Regions from separate parts of the Homo sapiens genome. Here region 1 is linked to region 2. The links are contacts of gene promoters, found by promoter capture Hi-C in blood cells and fetal thymus (Javierre and others, 2016). All regions are on one chromosome and are shown on one strand. The core of a region is centred on a gene start or on the middle of the fragment in contact, and the rest is flanking DNA. Distances in the headings are between cores, read along the strand shown. Region 1 holds the start of CPA5 (carboxypeptidase A5). Region 2 has its middle 14 kb from the start of TSGA13.

Region 1 (3,123 bases), core at 343-2,842, 360 kb after region 2:
GCTGGAAAGCCCAGCCTGAGAAAGAGCATTAGGCTGTCTGGGGCACCCAGCATGTGGCTCCCACATGCCAGGCCTTGGGAGAGCTAGGGCTGCCCCTCCCCAACCCAGCACATCCTCTCCTGGGAAGGGGAGAGGGAAGAGAGAAGGAGGAAGACAGGCCTTAGCTTTTCTTTTCTCTCAGGAGGTTTGCCAGGGCAGCCCCTTGTGAGCATCAAAGCTTCCATCTCTGGAGAAAGACCAAAGTAGCCAGCAGCCCTGGGATACCCCTCCTTTCCTCCCTCCTCTACAGCATCTTCTCTTTCGCTCTTCTTCTCCGCCTAGCCCACTCATGCTTTCCCTGGGCCATATCCTCCTTACACATAAGGTGTGGATGCCATTGAAACACCGCTGGACTTAGAGACAGAGACTGGGTGCTCACTTCCCGTCTAAAATATCTGGGGCAGCTGCCCTAATCTCTAAATCTCAGTTTACTCATCCATCAAATGGGGTTAATCATACCTCCCCTCCCTACCTCACAGGGTTTGAAGGGGTATAGATGAGACAACTTGAGTGAATTGGCTTGGTAAAGCCTGCAAAATGCAATGTATTATTATTCAAAAGGCATTAACTTTTAGTCACAGCTGCATTTGAGATCAGTCCTCCAGTGGCGATGGGGAGAAGGGGAAGAGAAGAGAATGGAGAGGAGAACAAAGGAAATAACTATATATTGTATGAGAAGGAATTCAATCAAGATTCCCTTTTCTCTGTCTTCAGGTGGTCATCATTGTGCTAGCACAGACAGTGGGTTTTCTGCTAGACATGAAGGTCACCGCAGTCATTATTAGAGTTCTCAACAGACAGCAGAGTCAATTTCTCAGTCCTGCTGAAGCCCCACACAGTTCCCTTTATAGTTTGGGAATAGCAGGAGTAAAGCAGGGGCCAGCACACAAAGCAGTCATGTTGGAAGGAGAAAGTGAAAGATGATGCCTGAATGGCAAATGATGAATCTAACAGAAAATCCACAGGGGGTGGGGGTAAGGCAGAAGCTGAATCCAACCAAGTCGTTCAGCAGAGGACGTCAACAATAGGCCACTTAACTGTCACTGGCGATTCTCAGAAGCTCCCCCTCCCCATCCAAACTATCTCAGAATGGCCGATTAACTGGCTATGTGTGCAAAGAAGGGAGCTCGTTTATCGACAGAACGCCCTGCTCCCCCACCCACCTGCCCTACTCCATTATTTCGTAGTTCAGCTGTTCAGACAAGCCAGACTCTTCTAGTATCCTGGCTTCAGGGACTCTCAAACAGTAACATTATCAAAGGGTTTAAGGACATAGAAAAGAAAGCAGTTATGCTTTCCACCCAAGTAACATTCAGCTTCAGTAGCAATGGAGATAAAAGGGTGTACTGCTAAACAATAGCTCAGGAATTTAAAAGGAAAAAAACAGAGATAGTGCTAGTCACCAAAAGTACCCATGGGGCGTCTTCTTGTTCAAAAACATCATTTTAAGCCACCAATGATGAGACAACTATCCCTGTACTTGGCTTAAGGGTGGGAAAAGAGAGAGAGTGAGAGAGAAAGAATAAGAGTAAAAGAGAGAGAGAGAAGCAGTTAGGAAGTTTTGAGAATTCTATGACATAGCTTCCAATAGAACTTTCTGTGATAATGGAAATATTCTATGTCCACACCCCCCAGTAGGATAGCCACTAACCTCTTGAAATGTGGCTATTGTGGTTGAATATTGATTTTGGAGTTGTATTTAACTTTAATTAATTTAAATAAAATTTAAATAGCCACATGTGGCTAATGGCTACCATATTGGACAGCAGAGTTCTCTGGGAATTCACCAACCCTGAAAGCACCATCTCCAATGGCTGGATTTGTTTTTGGTTTTGCTTCTTCTAAGTTCATGTTAGACGGGTAATGTGCTGACGTCATAACAAGGTTTGAGGGTGACACATCTCACACACGCATGCGTGAGCACCCAATTATCATACTTATGAACTGCAATTATCAGCTTATGGCTGGATTTGAAGCGGAGACACATAGCTATGCTTGACCTAATACCTCATTTTGGCTTTTCACTTATAATTAATTACTCACCTAATCATTTACTCAGTAAATGTCCTCTGAATACCTGCTATGTTCCAGGCACTTGCTAAAGTCTGGAAACAAAATAGAAAGCAACACATATCTGGCCCTTACATTTCTAAAGGCGTAAGTAGAAAATTAATTTAAATAGCATGAAGATAATTGGTAAACCCAAGACATAATGGTAGCCCATCTCACTCCAGATAAGTGTAAAACTATAGATGGTGTTTGTGTTACAAGGGAAAGGCACATTGTACCATGAGGACGGGGAACATGGGCTCCACATAGACTGAAGGAGAGTTTCCCTAAATTAGAAATTTTTTTGGAGGACTTTTATTTCCTGCAGGTGGGGTGGGTTAGATACCTAAGCAATCTTGCCCAAATGAAAGAACTCAAATGCAGAAGAAAATATTTTTAGTAACAACTTTCTAAAGCCATTGCTGGGTTGGCACAAAAATAAGAATCTATAGATCCCAAAAAGAAGGAAAAGCCAGACAGACACCCAAGTGGTAAGCAAGTTTTGCCTCAGAGAACTTCTCAGAATGCTGGTGTTCTTGATTTTCCTACTGGATGCATGTACCATGTATCTAGAATCATCTTCCCTCTGCTTCAAATCTATCTTTTCAAACCTTCCTTTAGTTAAGGTTTCTGTTTTTACTTATTTGAAAATTTTTGGCCAGGTATGGCAGCTCACATCTGTAATCCCAGTGCTTTGGGAGGCCAAGGCAGGAGGAGCCCAGGAGTTCGCTTGAGCCCAGGAGTCCGAGACCAGCCTGGGCAAGTCAGGGAGACCCTATCTCTGCAAAAATAAAATAAAATTAGCTGGGCATGGTGAGGCACGCATCTGTAGTCCTAGCTACTCGGGAAGCAAGCAAGCAGATCAACTGAGCCCAGGACTTTGAGGCTGCAGAGAACCATACTCCAGCCTGGGTGACAGAACAAAAACCTATCTCAAAAAAAAAAAAAAGAAAAAAAGAAAAAGAAAAGAAATAAGGAAGGGAGGGAGGGAGGAAGAGAGGGAGGGAGGGAGAGAGGGAGGGAGCGAGGAAGGAA
Region 2 (2,826 bases), core at 258-2,757:
TGGGATGACTACAAGTGAAAAACAAAAACAAAAACAACAACAACAACAACAACAACAAAAAACCACCAGAAAATAAATGTTTGCAAGGATGTGGAGAAATTGGAACCTCATACATTGCTAGTGGGAATGTAAAATGGTTAGCCATATGATCTAGCATTTACACTCCTAGGTAAATGCTAGCACTATATGCTGCAAATAATAAAAACAGGCACTCAAATAAGCACATGTACACACATGTTCATAACAGCACTATTGATAATAGTCAAAAGGTGGAAACAGCCCAAATGTCTATCAGTGGAAGAGTGGATAAACAAATTGCAGTATATTCATAAGCATATTTTTCAGTGATTAAAAAAAAGGATGAAGTACCGTACCTAATACATGCTATAACATGGATGAACCTCTAAAACATTAGCTAAGTGAAAGAAGCCAGACACCAAAGATCACATATTGTATGATTCCATTTGTATGAAATATCCAGAATAGATAAATTCATAAAGATAGAACACAGATTGGTGGCTGCCAGGTACTGGCAGGTTAGAGAGAAAGAGGAGAAACTGTTTAATGTGCAAAAGGTTTTACTTTAGAGTGAAGAAAATGTTTCAAAACTAGATAGATGCGGTGGTTGCACAATGCTGCAAATGAACTAAATGTCACTGAATTTAAAATAGTTAATTTAAAAAATCTTGGTGGAGGCACACACACACACACAAAAGCTTTCTATCCAGGGAAAAAATTAATGGACAGCTAATAGAATTAAAGAAAATTATTCATACCATTTAAAGCTGACTATGGGTTGATATCTAGAATATATAACAAAATCTTGCAAATTCACAAGAAAATGTCAGCAACTTCATTAAAATAATAGGCAAAAGATATGAATCAGCATTTAAATAAGGAACCAAAAGTTGATAAATATGAAGAAATGTTTAAACTCATTAATAATCAAAGAAATGCAAATTGAAACAACAGTGAAATAGGGAAGAATTAGAAAGTTGAATGATACTAAGTGTGGATGGGGCAATGTGACTTAGCTCATGTTCGCCAAAAGCCAATCTTGAGACATAGATTTATTTTCAAATAACTTATTAAGAAAGTCATCCCAGCATAAACTGGTAAGGAAGTTGGGGATGAAGGACAGAAAAATAGAAGAAACTAAAGAAAGATGTACTGTATTTCAGACAGAGTCCTAGCCTTAATCTGATCCTATAAGGGAGTTCTGGAGAGGAAATTATGCCTCAGCCTGAAAGAGTCTAAGGCAAAGGAGCTGGGCTTTCATCCTTATACTGCAGTGGTCCATTGACTACAGATGTACTGGGGGTACCTAATCTCCCAGACACTTCCTATTCTCTGGGATAAGTGGCTCCAGTAGCCCAAGGGCAATCCTTCAAAGCAGATATTTAAAAGAGGCAGCCATTGTGGAGTGCAATTTGGCATTTCTTTCTTTCTTTCTTTTTGAGACAAAGTCTCACTCTGTCGCCCAGGCTGGAGTACAGTGGCACTCTGTTGGTTCACTGCAACCTCCGCCTCCCGGGTTCAAGCAATTCTCCTGCCTCAGCCTTACGAGTAGCTGGGACTACAGGTGCGAGCCACCACACCCGGCTAATTTTTGTATTTTTAGTAGAGATGGGGTTTTGCCATGTTGGTCAGGTTGGTCTCCAACTCCATGTTGGTCAGGTTGGTCTCCAACTCCTGACCTCAGGTGATCTGCCAGCCTTGGCCTCCCAAAGTGCTGAGATTACAGGCAGCAATTTGACATTTCTCAGACAAATTATATTAAACAAATATATCTTATGACCCAGCATTTTTATTTTTTAGACATATATTCCCCCAAAATATAACATGAGGTTCATAAGGAGAATATTTAGTTGCCCACAGGGTGTGGCTTTTTCCACAGAACGCTGCAGGTCACTAATGTGATCCTACCTACTGAGGAGTCACATGGGCTGGTTTCGTCATCCCGACCTTTTCGCATCATTGGATCTACTGAATCATAAGAGCCAAGTGACAGAGCTGCTTGCTTGCAGCCTGAACCAGCTGAAGGAACTTTTCTTGCTTTAAGTCCCACTAAAATTTGTCAGTTTTTCAAAGTCACCTATTGGATTTGTCAGTGTAACACACCCAAATGTGCCATTGGTTGCCACCAAAAATTTTACATTTTTCTTACTGTAAGGCAGGCCAGTCCACTGAGGAGGAGATAACCTGTATACTCCTAAACTGGACCCTCTAGAAGATGCATTAATGTAAAAGCCCTCAGATTTTCTTCTTCCTGACATTCATGAGTTTTACCAAAGCTTTTAGGATATTCCCTGCTTTCTTAGCCCTCTCTGTAGTGGACCAGCATAATTTTCTTTGGAATGGTGAGAGGATCAAGGTTCTTCTATCAGTCAGAGTCTAATCATAAGAACGTAAACCACACTAGATATTTCAAACAAAGGGTAGTTAATAAAGGGAATTGATTACGCAGGTATTGGAACACCAAACAAGCAAAAATGAGAGGTTGAGGCAACCCACAGATTAATCTCTTTAGAAGGTACCACCTTAGACCTGGGGGAACAAAATGGAAGAAGTGATATTACCAGAACATACAGAAGAGGATACTTTACTTCTAGTGCTTAGACTGCTGAGGAAGTGTAGGCTGCACCACTCAAGGGGCTATGGCCAAATGGATAAAAGTGAATGATGGGCTTGGCTGCTACTAGTATCTTGATGGGGCATAGTGAGAATATTGCTGGGAATAACAAGCTGAAGGCTGGAATCAAATCATAGCTGTCTGCTGTAGCTGGAGAGTAAGCAAACTAGAACTGGAAACTGGAAGACACTACT

The links. The method cuts DNA at HindIII sites, captures the fragments that hold promoters and counts their contacts. A CHiCAGO score of 5 or more calls a contact.
Region 1: a contact is called between the fragment with the promoter of CPA5 here and a fragment that was not itself captured in region 2, in 1 of 17 cell types (total CD4 T cells). The highest score is 5.3, in total CD4 T cells.

What each region holds. Positions count from the first base shown.
Region 1 is chr7:130,343,285-130,346,407 of GRCh38, reverse strand. CPA5 (carboxypeptidase A5) reads right to left here and starts at 1,592. Exons shown (of 13, transcript NM_080385.5): 1 at 1,203-1,592; 2 at 512-569; 3 at 1-15. All of the region lies in intron 1 of LOC105375503 (a long non-coding RNA gene), which reads left to right. LOC124901837 (small nucleolar RNA U13) reads right to left here and starts at 1,993; the gene lies at 1,890-1,993. RefSeq lists an enhancer at 1-400. The HindIII fragment of the contact is 13,267 bases long and covers 220-3,123 here.
Region 2 is chr7:130,699,015-130,701,840 of GRCh38, reverse strand. No RefSeq gene overlaps it. Among named protein-coding and RNA genes, the nearest start is that of TSGA13, 14 kb to the right of the region's middle. The HindIII fragment of the contact is 1,578 bases long and covers 719-2,296 here.